3 separate regions of the Homo sapiens genome follow, and all the other regions are linked to region 2. The links are contacts of gene promoters, found by promoter capture Hi-C in human tissues and cell types (Jung and others, 2019). All regions are on one chromosome and are shown on one strand. The core of a region is centred on a gene start or on the middle of the fragment in contact, and the rest is flanking DNA. Distances in the headings are between cores, read along the strand shown.

Region 1 (3,941 bases), core at 276-2,775, 210 kb after region 2:
TCATTCATGGGGGTTGGAATCAACTTTGTCCAAACCTCTGCTAATGTTGACATTCTGACCTCCTCCCATAAATCGTGAATGTTTTTAATAGTAAATCCTTTCCAAAAAGTTTTCGATTTACTTTTCCCAGATCCATGACAGAAATCACTATCAATGGCAGCTATAGCCTAAAGAAATGTATTTCTTAAATGGTAAGAGTTGAAAATCAAAATTATTCTTTGATCATGGGCTGCAGAATGGATGCTGTGTTAGCAAGCATGAAAACAACATTAATCACCCTGTATATTTTCATCAGAGCTCTTGGGTGACTAGGTGCATTGTCAACGAGTAGTAATATTTTTAAAAGAATCTTTTTTTGAGGAGTGTGGCTCAAGAGTGGGCTAAAAATGTTCAGTAAGCCAAGCCATGAACAGATTTGCTGTCCCCCCAGGCTTTGTTTTCCTTCATAGAGCATAACCAGAGTAGATTTAGCTTAATATGTATGGGTTTTGGGATTTTCAGAATGGTAAATGAACACTGGCTTCAACTGAAAGTCACCAGCTACATTAACCCCTGACAAGAGAGTCAGCCTATCCTTTGAAGCTTTGAAGCTAAATGTTGACTTCTCTCTAGCTATAAAAGCTAATGGATGGCATCTTATTTCGATAGAAGACTATATTGTTTACATAGATATTCTTTGTTTAGTGTAGCCACCTTTATCCATTATCTTAGCTAGACCTTCTGGATAACTTGCAGTGGCTTCTGCATCAGCTCTTGCTGTTTCACCTTGTACTTTTATGTTATGGAGATGGCTTCTTTCCTTCAACCTCATGAACTAACCTCTGCTAGCTTCTAACTTTTCTTCTGCAGCTTCCTCATCTCTGTCAGCCTTCCTAGAATTGAAAAGAATTCGGTCTTTACTCTGGATTAGATTTTGACTTAAGGGAATGCTGTGGCTGGTTAGATCATCTATCCAGACCACTCAAACTTTCTTCACATCAGCAATAAAACTGTTTTATTTTCTTATCATTTGTGTGTTCATTGGAGTAGCACTTTAAATTTCTTTCAAGAACTCTTCTTTTACATTTACAACATGGCTAATTGTTTGGTGCAAGGGGCCTAGCTTTGGCCCTATCTAGTTTTCAACATGCCTTCCTCACTAAGCTAAATCATTCTCAGCTTTTGATTTCAGGTGAGAGGTGTGTGAATCTTTTTTTCACTTGAAGACTTAGAGGCCATTATAGAGTTATTAAGTGGCCTAATTTCAGTATTGTGTCTCAGGGAATATGGAGGCCCCAAAAGAGGGAGAGAAACTGGGGAATAGCTGATTGGTGGGGCAGTCAGAGTACACACATTTATCAATTAAGTTTGCTGTCCTGTATGGACAGAATTCATGGTGCTCCAAAACAAATACAATAGTAACATCACATATCACTGATTACAGATAGCCATAACAGATATATAATAATGAAAAAGTTTGAAATAGTGCAAGAATTACCAAAATGTGACACAGACACAAAGTGACATAAGCTGTTGGAAAAATGGTGCCAACAGACTTGCTCAACGCAGGGTTGCCACGAATCCTCAATTTGTAAAAAGGTCAATATCTGCCAAATTCAATAAAGCAAAGCACAATAAAATGAGTTATGCCTGTACTTGGGGATTGGAAGCCATCAAATCTTTATACCACCACACACAATGAATGACTGCTTGATTTTACATTTGTGCAAAAGGTAAACTGCTGCAGTACATTGCAAACCATGGAGCATGAGGGAGTTGTGTGTGTCTGTGTTCAAACAACACAGAGAATGGGTGCTTCACCTGATACAAAAGCTCCTACAGCAGCCTCTCCATCAGTGCAGCTCCCTCTCACCCCATTGCCTAGATGGAGACAGAGACTGAAAATTGGGAGTACCAGACAGAGAAGGAAGTTCTCGTGTCATGTCACTCAACCACACAACCTTGGTTGCTTTTCCTCATTCTTCACCTCCTCCCCTGTTCATACAGCTCTTAATTCCCCAGCTTGAAGGAGATATTGGAAAGGCTGTGAATAAGTGTGTGTGTGTGTGTGTGTGTGTGTGTGTGTGTAATAAAAACACAAGAAGCCTCCATTAATTTCCACAATCTCATATCGAGAATATATGAAAATAGAAAAGTCTGAAATTAAACTCCCATGCAGCAGTTAGTACATATATAAATACCTAGCTCTAGTAACAAGGTCTTGGAACTGGAAACTTTGAAAAGTCATGCAAGGCCCTTTTTTGCACAGATAGGTTACATACCTTATCCTGATAAGAAGGTGGACAATGTCCATGCTGTCATGGAGAAAAGAAATGTGAAAAATGAACATGCGACTATAATTTACATGTGCTTCCATGATTTGGTTTAAAATATACGGAACCTAATATGTGTTGGTCATTGTACTGAGTGCCAGGGATCTAGAAGTGATGGAGACAAATACCTGCGTTCAAGAAGCTTACTGTCTAACAGGAAAGGTAAACATATAATAGGACATTTCAATAGATAGCATTAACCTCATAAAAGTGGCAAGAACTAAGTACCAAAACACCACATAATGACCCTGAAGAGGGAGGCTGGACCAGAGAATGCTTCACATTCTACGACTAGGTCTTGAAGATAAATGTTTCCCAGGTAGACAGGAAGACAAAGTTAATCTAGAAACAAAGAATACATAGAAAAATAGAGAAATGAACCCACATGGAACTTTCAAGGAACAGAAATAATTCTATAATATCTGAGCATGCATTTGACCAGATGAAACTAAGCATACTACGAGATGTTGTAGAATAATGAAATAAGCCCTAGAAGTTTGGGATTTAGGAATTAGCTCTGCTACTTTGTAGCTGTGAGCCATTGGGCAAGTCAGTCTCTCAAAGTTTCTGCTTTCTCTGTTGTGGAGACAATAATTCCTGCACAAGATATATGGAAGTAAATATGGGCTACTCAATTGAATTTTAGGCAAGGGTACCTTTTGGGGAAGTGTGTAAGTCTGAGACCAGAGGATGAGAAGGTGGGATAAAATGTTTAGGCTGAGACATAAGGCAAAGCTGAGAAGCGAAATAGAAAACATGGCACTTTCGAAGGGTTAAAAGTTTAATATGGCTGGGTGCAGTGGCTCACACCTGTAATCTCAGCACTTTGGGAGGCCGAGGAGGGTGGATCACCTGAGGTCAGGAGTTCGAGACCAGCCTGGCCAACCTGGTGAAACCCCATCTCTACTAAAAATACAAAAATTAGCTGGGTGTGGTGCTGGGTGCCTGTAATCACAGCTACTCAGGAGGCTGAGGCAGGAAAATCACTTGAACCCAGGAGGCAGAGGTTGCAGTGAGCTGAGATCACACCTGGGTGACAGAGTGAGACTCTGTCTCAAAAATAAATAAATAAATAAATAGGTTTGATATGCCTGGAGCATGAAGTACCAATAGTGAAAATTGAAGCTGTAGTGGTTAACATGGAAAACCATGAGTTGGGACTTCAGTCAATAGGCTAGTGGTAAAGTACTGAAGATTTTTTTGTTTGTTTAGTTTTGTTTGGTTATGTTTTGCTTTGACTTTAAAGCAGGAAAGTGATTGAATAAGATGATCCCTTTAAGGCCGATAGGTTCCAAGATGGCCGAATAGGAACACCTCCAGTCTGCAGCTCCCAACGTGATCCATGCAGAAGACGGGTGATTTCTGCATTTCCAACTGAGGTACCTGGTTCATCTCACTGGGACTGGATGGACAGTGGGTGCAGCCCATGGAGGGCGAGACAAAGCAGGGCAGGGCATCACTTCACCCGGGAAGCGCGAGGGTCAGGGGACTTACTGTACCTGGAAAAAACAGGACCCTCCTGCTTAAATACTGCGCTTTTCCAATGGTGTTAGCAAACGGCACACCAGGAGATTATATCCCGTGCATGGCTCGGTGGGTCCCACTCCCACGGAGCCTTGCTCACTGCTA
Region 2 (4,020 bases), core at 1,515-4,014:
CTTCCTTTATAAATTACTCAGACTCAGGTATTTCTTCAAAGCAGTGTGAGAAGGAACTAATACAGGTGTTTTGACATCCTATGACACACACTGTCCTTAAGGATGTCCTGATCACACTATTCAGACTCCAACCCCATGCTCAAGGCCCTGTGCCCCCTTCCCCAGTTCAGATGACAAGCTTCCTCAGCTCTGCCTAATGGGGGAGAAAGAAGAGAAGAAAAAGGGAGGGAGGGAGGAGAAGAATAGGTCCCTACTTATTTTAAGGGCCAAATAAATATATTTCACCGTAAACTACCAAAACTCTTACTGTCCCTCACATTACTGGAACATTCTAATTTACTCACCTAAAAATTGACGTTTGCTTCAAAAAAGTAATAATACTAAAGGTTATATGTAACCCTGGCATATTAGGACCAATATTCTATATATTCAGCAAATATTTCACTACAGCCCATAAAACTGTTGAAACTCAAAGGAAAGTGAATATTGTGTATTATACAATCAAATTTAAAGCACAAAGTTTGGATGATGCAAGCTCAAGGAAAATTTGGGCATCCTACACATTTGGTAGTGACATTATGTGAAAGAATTTCGGGATTAATTTTCAGCTGATAGAGTTGGAAAAAAAAGTGGACGTATAGGGAAAAAAATGCAATATAGACAACCGATACTACCAGGCACTAGCTGCTTACACTGCCATACATATATAGATGACAGTTAATTGTCTCTCTGAAAGTTCTACTTAAGCATCTACAGCTACTAGCAATTATTTTCTCAAGAAGCACATTTTATATGGTAGCACTATTTATAGTAACAGCATTATTAGTCGATTTCAATAACACCCACTTCAATCACCAAACGGAGAATTTTCTGCCCAAAAAAAAAAAAATACATTAGATGGCCTTTTCTTTTTCTTTGTTCTCATGGATGGTTTTCAGATTAGGTTTGTTTTTTGTTGTTGCTTTTGTGTGTCTTTAACATTTATTTCAGCAGAGCCCAAACATTCACACAAGAATAAAGCTCTGAAGTTTCTGGCACGTAAGATACGCCCAAGACTATTCCTAGACACCAGCAAACAGACGAGGTTGAAGAAGAAACAGGTGAAGAATAATGTCTTAAACATCATTTTAGCACCCTATTCTGCCATTCTGTATCTTTATAGGATATGTCCAGTCCAGTCCCAGAAAATCTACTGCCCAAGGAGTTCTAGATGACAGGTTAGATCAAGCCCCGGCAAATGTTTGCGAAAACAACATTCAACTGCCTCTGGACATTGCAAAGACATATTCCAGGGAGCTATCTCTTGGGCTCTTTTTTAACATCTCTCCTAGAGGATGAGACTCCTTTCGGGATTACAGCCACTGGGAAAGTAAAAGCAACAGTAGCATCAACAGGTTGCATCGCACTCCCGCGCCCCAGGGGCGGTGCAGGAGAGCGCCCGGAGCCAGAGCCAGGGCGCGCTGGGCGCAAGCTGGGGCGCGCCCAGGGCCAATGAGCTTCTGATTGGCTCTTTGCTGTGAATAGACTAGGCCGAGGCTAATAGGACCGGAGGGGGCGTTCACCTGGGAATTGGCCTCCCCCCCTTGCCAAGGACCTCCCTGATTGTATGGGGCGGAGTGGGGTGGGGGTGGGGGCTGGAAAGGGGAAGCCCACCCTAACTAAACGGAGGGGCGGGAGGAGGTTAAACTGAGGAAGCCACGAGCCCGCAGTAAAGAGAGGGCGATCGAGGCAAAAGGGTAGGTAACTTGGGACTTCTGTGCCTTGAAAGTGTTAAGGATTGCAGGGAATGCAGGCGCCTTTCATTTTACTTTGGGCACCCTCCCCTGGCTGGGCATTTAATGAGGAGTCCTACTGTGTGTGTTGAAACTCTGCATAATACCGTAAAATATTCTGGCCCTAAATTACACTCAACGGAGAGATTTAGGCAGATTACAATCCTAATTGGCCGCAGGGTGCTGGGGAAAGGGGACAGAGAGAATTGGGGGATCTGGAATTTGGTGTGCTATCACTACACCGCAGCTCTATTTTCCATTAAGAAAAAGATCATATGACGAAGTCGAACTAAGAGATCTGAAGTAAAAAATGAAAAGATGGAGCAAAAGTAAGAAACATACTCTGAGACGAGTGGGTTTTCCCCCTTTATTCCAACAGCAATCTTAAATGATGGACGTCATGTAGCAGTTATATATCTATGAACATGCATGAGAGATTTATAAATACCTGCATACATAAATACAAACATCCTATTATACATGAGAAATCGTAAATGCTTGGGCATCAGAAGTGGGAGCTGTGATCCTAGCTTGGGGGCAGCACAGGGTAGGCGGCCTTCTCTCTGCTTTGAGTGGCTTCTGGGCGCCTGGCGGGTCCAGAATCGCCCAGAGCCGCCCGCGGTCGTGCACATCTGACCCGAGTCAGCTTGGGCACCAGCCGAGAGCCGGCTCCGCACCGCTCCCGCACCCCAGCCGCCGGGGTGGTGACACACACCGGAGTCGAATTACAGCCCTGCAATTAACATATGAATCTGACGAATTTAAAAGAAGGAAAAAAAAAAAAAAACCTGAGCAGGCTTGGGAGTCCTCTGCACACAAGAACTTTTCTCGGGGTGTAAAAACTCTTTGATTGGCTGCTCGCACGCGCCTGCCCGCGCCCTCCATTGGCTGAGAAGACACGCGACCGGCGCGAGGAGGGGGTTGGGAGAGGAGCGGGGGGAGACTGAGTGGCGCGTGCCGCTTTTTAAAGGGGCGCAGCGCCTTCAGCAACCGGAGAAGCATAGTTGCACGCGACCTGGTGTGTGATCTCCGAGTGGGTGGGGGAGGGTCGAGGAGGGAAAAAAAAATAAGACGTTGCAGAAGAGACCCGGAAAGGGCCTTTTTTTTGGTTGAGCTGGTGTCCCAGTGCTGCCTCCGATCCTGAGCCTCCGAGCCTTTGCAGTGCAATGTCCCGCCTGCTGCATGCAGAAGAGTGGGCTGAAGTGAAGGAGTTGGGAGACCACCATCGCCAGCCCCAGCCGCATCATCTCCCGCAACCGCCGCCGCCGCCGCAGCCACCTGCAACTTTGCAGGCGAGAGAGCATCCCGTCTACCCGCCTGAGCTGTCCCTCCTGGACAGCACCGACCCACGCGCCTGGCTGGCTCCCACTTTGCAGGGCATCTGCACGGCACGCGCCGCCCAGTATTTGCTACATTCCCCGGAGCTGGGTGCCTCAGAGGCCGCTGCGCCCCGGGACGAGGTGGACGGCCGGGGGGAGCTGGTAAGGAGGAGCAGCGGCGGTGCCAGCAGCAGCAAGAGCCCCGGGCCGGTGAAAGTGCGGGAACAGCTGTGCAAGCTGAAAGGCGGGGTGGTGGTAGACGAGCTGGGCTGCAGCCGCCAACGGGCCCCTTCCAGCAAACAGGTGAATGGGGTGCAGAAGCAGAGACGGCTAGCAGCCAACGCCAGGGAGCGGCGCAGGATGCATGGGCTGAACCACGCCTTCGACCAGCTGCGCAATGTTATCCCGTCGTTCAACAACGACAAGAAGCTGTCCAAATATGAGACCCTGCAGATGGCCCAAATCTACATCAACGCCTTGTCCGAGCTGCTACAAACGCCCAGCGGAGGGGAACAGCCACCGCCGCCTCCAGCCTCCTGCAAAAGCGACCACCACCACCTTCGCACCGCGGCCTCCTATGAAGGGGGCGCGGGCAACGCGACCGCAGCTGGGGCTCAGCAGGCTTCCGGAGGGAGCCAGCGGCCGACCCCGCCCGGGAGTTGCCGGACTCGCTTCTCAGCCCCAGCTTCTGCGGGAGGGTACTCGGTGCAGCTGGACGCTCTGCACTTCTCGACTTTCGAGGACAGCGCCCTGACAGCGATGATGGCGCAAAAGAATTTGTCTCCTTCTCTCCCCGGGAGCATCTTGCAGCCAGTGCAGGAGGAAAACAGCAAAACTTCGCCTCGGTCCCACAGAAGCGACGGGGAATTTTCCCCCCATTCCCATTACAGTGACTCGGATGAGGCAAGTTAGGAAGGTGACAGAAGCCT
Region 3 (3,653 bases), core at 876-3,375, 150 kb after region 2:
ATTTCTTGACCTAAGACAATTCTATAGGTATAAAGGTATCTATAAACCCAATTCAATGGACAGGGCCACATAGCTATTGTTCTGCACAATTTAATGCTAAGCCAGAGAATGTCAAAACCTGGTAGGACATTCTAATCTGATTCCATCTCATCTCTTCCTTTTAGCCTATGCTAATAGAAAATTACTTAGAATCTTGTATCTTTAACTGAACCTTTTTTCAGCTATATCTTTCATCTTATTGCTTAGTCTCCTAGTTTTAAAATATAGTCTATCAGTCTTGCATCTTTTTTTCTGACTGTCCTACAAGCATCCAGGCCCAGGCCCAGGGCAGACTTTAACTTATCAACAATCTGAAAAAGACAAAAACTGACTTCATTCAAAAGAGGGCTATCTGGGGGACACAAAGTCCCCAAATATCCATATATAGGAAATCCGTGTAAAGTGTTAAATAAACAATAAAAATAACTATAGCAAGAGAAACAAATTTGCTTTCGTATATTCTGAAAAACACATCTTAGCTCTTATTTCATATGGGATAAGGTGTTAGAGAAAGAAAATTCTGATTTATCCAAGATTTGTATTTCTTTCTCTTGTGCCATTTTTAAATCTGAATCATTCTTTTATATTTTGCCTTCTTTTTAGGGCAATTTTAACATATCCTCCACCATCCCTCATTCAAATATTTCTTTGCAGGCTGGTGGTGGTGGCTCATACCTGTAATCCCAGTGCTTTGGGAGGCAGAAGCAGGAGGATTGCTTGAGGCCAGAAGTTCAAGACCAGCCTGGGCAGCATAGTGAGACCCTGTCTCCACAAAATAAAAATAAAATTAGCCAGGATGCTGGGGTGGGAGGATTGCTTGAGTCTAGGAGTTTGGGGTAACAGTGAGCTACGATTGTGCCACTGTACTCCAGCCCAGGCAACAGAGTGAGACCCTATCTCAAAAAAAAAAAAAAACACAGATATTTCTTTGCAAAATTCATATAATAGCCATGAGATACACTTCATCAAGCCAAATTTCTTATTCCAGAACCAAACTCTGTTCCCGCTAAAGACAGGCCTCAAGTCTTTATGTGAAATAAAATGTAACCTCTAGATACAAGGTTCTGGAAGTCTCACAAAAAGTTGGTATTCTTAGGCAGACCTGGTTTCTATGACTATTTTTAGAGCACACCAAAAAGCTATGGTAAAAGAAAAATTATTATTATTATTATTATTATTAAGCACCTTTGTAAGTAGGAGACATTTGTTCATGTAATTTGCATACATGGAACTGTCACAAAGAACATCTGTAACAGGTAATAATTAATGATAAAAACAAATTAAAATAGGGTATAAAATACCATCAGAAATCCCAGATGTTTTGATATTTTATTACTGTTATTGCAGATGTCTCAAAATAGCATTTATACTCATCACCACTTTGAAATAATGATAGTTATTAGATCCACTAATAGATCTTATTACTTAATGTGTTACTAAACAAGCAAATAGAGTACCATATATTTTTGGTGACTGTATTTTAATGTAATAATTTTCTTTTGTAATCATGTGTATTTTTATTATGCATAAATAAATTTTCATGCATTATTTTGAGAGTAATCACTTGACTATTAAAGAAGGGGTCAATGGCAGACACAAAATACATTGACACCCTGTTGTATAAAACCAGGTATAAGATTTTAAAAAGAGGGAAATGTTAATTTTCTAATCAATTGATAAATGTATAACAATATAGGACCCTTCAGATTTTCTATTGTATCTTGTGTCAATTTGGATATGTTGTATTTTTCAAATAATTTATCTGTTTAATCTAACTTGTTAGATTTATTGGCATAAAGTTGTCTACATTTTCTCTTATTATCCTTTTAATAGTTACAACATCTCTAGTGATATTCTCTCTTAATTCCTGATATAGGTATAATTTATGTCCCTCTCTTTATTTCTTAATCATTCTAACTAGGAGTTATCAATTTTGTTGATCTTTTAAAACAACTAGCTTTTGCTTTTGTTGAATTTCTCAAATGATTTTCTGCTTTTCATTGGTATCACACCTTTCTGCTTTTCTAATACAGGCATTTAAAAGCTATACATTTCCCTCCAAGCACTGCTTTAGCTGCATCACACAGATTTTTTATAACTTTCCGTGTTCACTGTTAGTCAGTTAAAATATCTAAATTCACTAGTGAGTTCCTTCAGTCATGGTAATTTAGAAGTATATTATTTACTTTCCAACATTTGAGCAATTTTCTAAATACCTGATATTTTCATTGAAATAGAAGTCTGAGTTGACAGTTTTCTTTCAGTGTCTTAAAGATGGTATACTGCTGTTTTTTGTATACCATTGTTTTTGATAATAAATCATTTATATTCTTGTTCCCCTGTATACCATATGTCCTTTGACTCTGTTAATATTTTCTCTTTATCTTTAATTTTTAGCAGGTTGAGTATAATGTATCTAGGTGTGGTTTTATGTTTTTTCAGCAGTGAGACTTTTAAATCTATAAATAAGATCTTTAGATTTATAAGATTTATAGACTTTTAAATCTGTAAATTAAGATCTTTTGAGCCATTATTGGTAATATATTTTACACTCTAATTAACTATCTGTTAGACTGTTTGATATTGTTCCACAGATATTGAGACTCTATTTTTTTCATCTTTATTCTTTCTGATCTTCAGATTGAATAATTTCTATTGCTCTACTTTCAAATTCAATGATAATTTATCATCTCTGATCTTCTTTCAAACTCTCAGTATTTCTTTAGATATGTTTATTTCAGTTTAATAATTTCCAATTGGTTTTTTTCACAGTTTCTATTTCTTGGCTGAAATTTCCTATTTGTTAGCTCATTGCAGCCATATTTTATTTTACATCCTTGAATATAGCTTAATAATTGCTTTAAAATCCTTATATGGCTGGCTGCAGTGGCTCACACCTGTAATCCCAGCACTTTGGGAGACCAAGGCAATGAACTGCTTGAGCCCAGGAGCTTGAGACCAGCCTGAGCAACATGATGAAACCCCATTTCTACAAAAAATAAAAAATAAATTAACCATGCTTGGTGGTGCACACCTGTGGTCCCAGCTACTTGGGAGGCTGAGGTAGGAGGATCGCTTGAGCCCAGGAGGTGGAGGTTGACCAGGAGGCAGAGGTTGCAGTGAGCCAAGACTGTGATGCTACACCCCAGCCTGGGCAACAAAGCAAGACCCTGCCTCAAAAAAAAATCCTTATTTGATAATTTCAGTATCTGAATCACCTAAGAGACAAATTACTACCTTTTCTCATAAATAAGGATTGCATTTTCCTATTGTTTCATGTGTCTAGTAATTTGGAATTGCATCCTGTGAGTGATATATTATAAATATTTATTGTATCTTTTCAGTGAAATATTGTAAAGACTCGGGATTCTCTTATATTCCTCCAGATAATATTGTGGGGGTTTTTGATGAGTTTGTTGTTATATTAGCTGGCAGTTAACTTGGCTGAACTCAAACTTTAAACTCTCTATCCCTTGTGGAGTGATGCAGCTGAAATCCTGTTAAATTATTTAGCCTTAGCTACTCCATGCATATGCAATTCATGGATCAGCCAGAAATAGTAGCATATTTTATACTCAGAATTTGGGATGCCCCTCTCCTTTCCTGTATTTTCT

The links. The method cuts DNA at HindIII sites, captures the fragments that hold promoters and counts their contacts. A contact is called where the count stands out against the background at its distance.
Region 1: a contact is called between a fragment that was not itself captured here and the fragment with the promoter of ATOH1 in region 2, in 2 of the 25 tissues and cell types used here (H1 embryonic stem cells and mesendoderm cells).
Region 3: a fragment that was not itself captured here is called in contact with the fragment with the promoter of ATOH1 in region 2 in 2 of the 25 tissues and cell types used here (hippocampus and ovary).

Annotation. Positions count from the first base shown.
Region 1 is chr4:94,040,900-94,044,840 of GRCh38, forward strand. No RefSeq gene overlaps it. Among named protein-coding and RNA genes, the nearest start is that of SMARCAD1-DT, 160 kb to the right of the region's middle. The HindIII fragment of the contact is 3,748 bases long and covers 1-3,399 here.
Region 2 is chr4:93,825,989-93,830,008 of GRCh38, forward strand. ATOH1 (atonal bHLH transcription factor 1) reads left to right here and starts at 2,765. Exons shown (of 1, transcript NM_005172.2): 1 at 2,765-4,020. The coding sequence starts at 2,939. The coding sequence ends at 4,003. RefSeq lists an enhancer at 882-1,587. The HindIII fragment of the contact is 12,246 bases long and covers 1-4,020 here.
Region 3 is chr4:93,972,212-93,975,864 of GRCh38, forward strand. No RefSeq gene overlaps it. Among named protein-coding and RNA genes, the nearest start is that of ATOH1, 150 kb to the left of the region's middle. The HindIII fragment of the contact is 9,166 bases long and covers 1-3,653 here.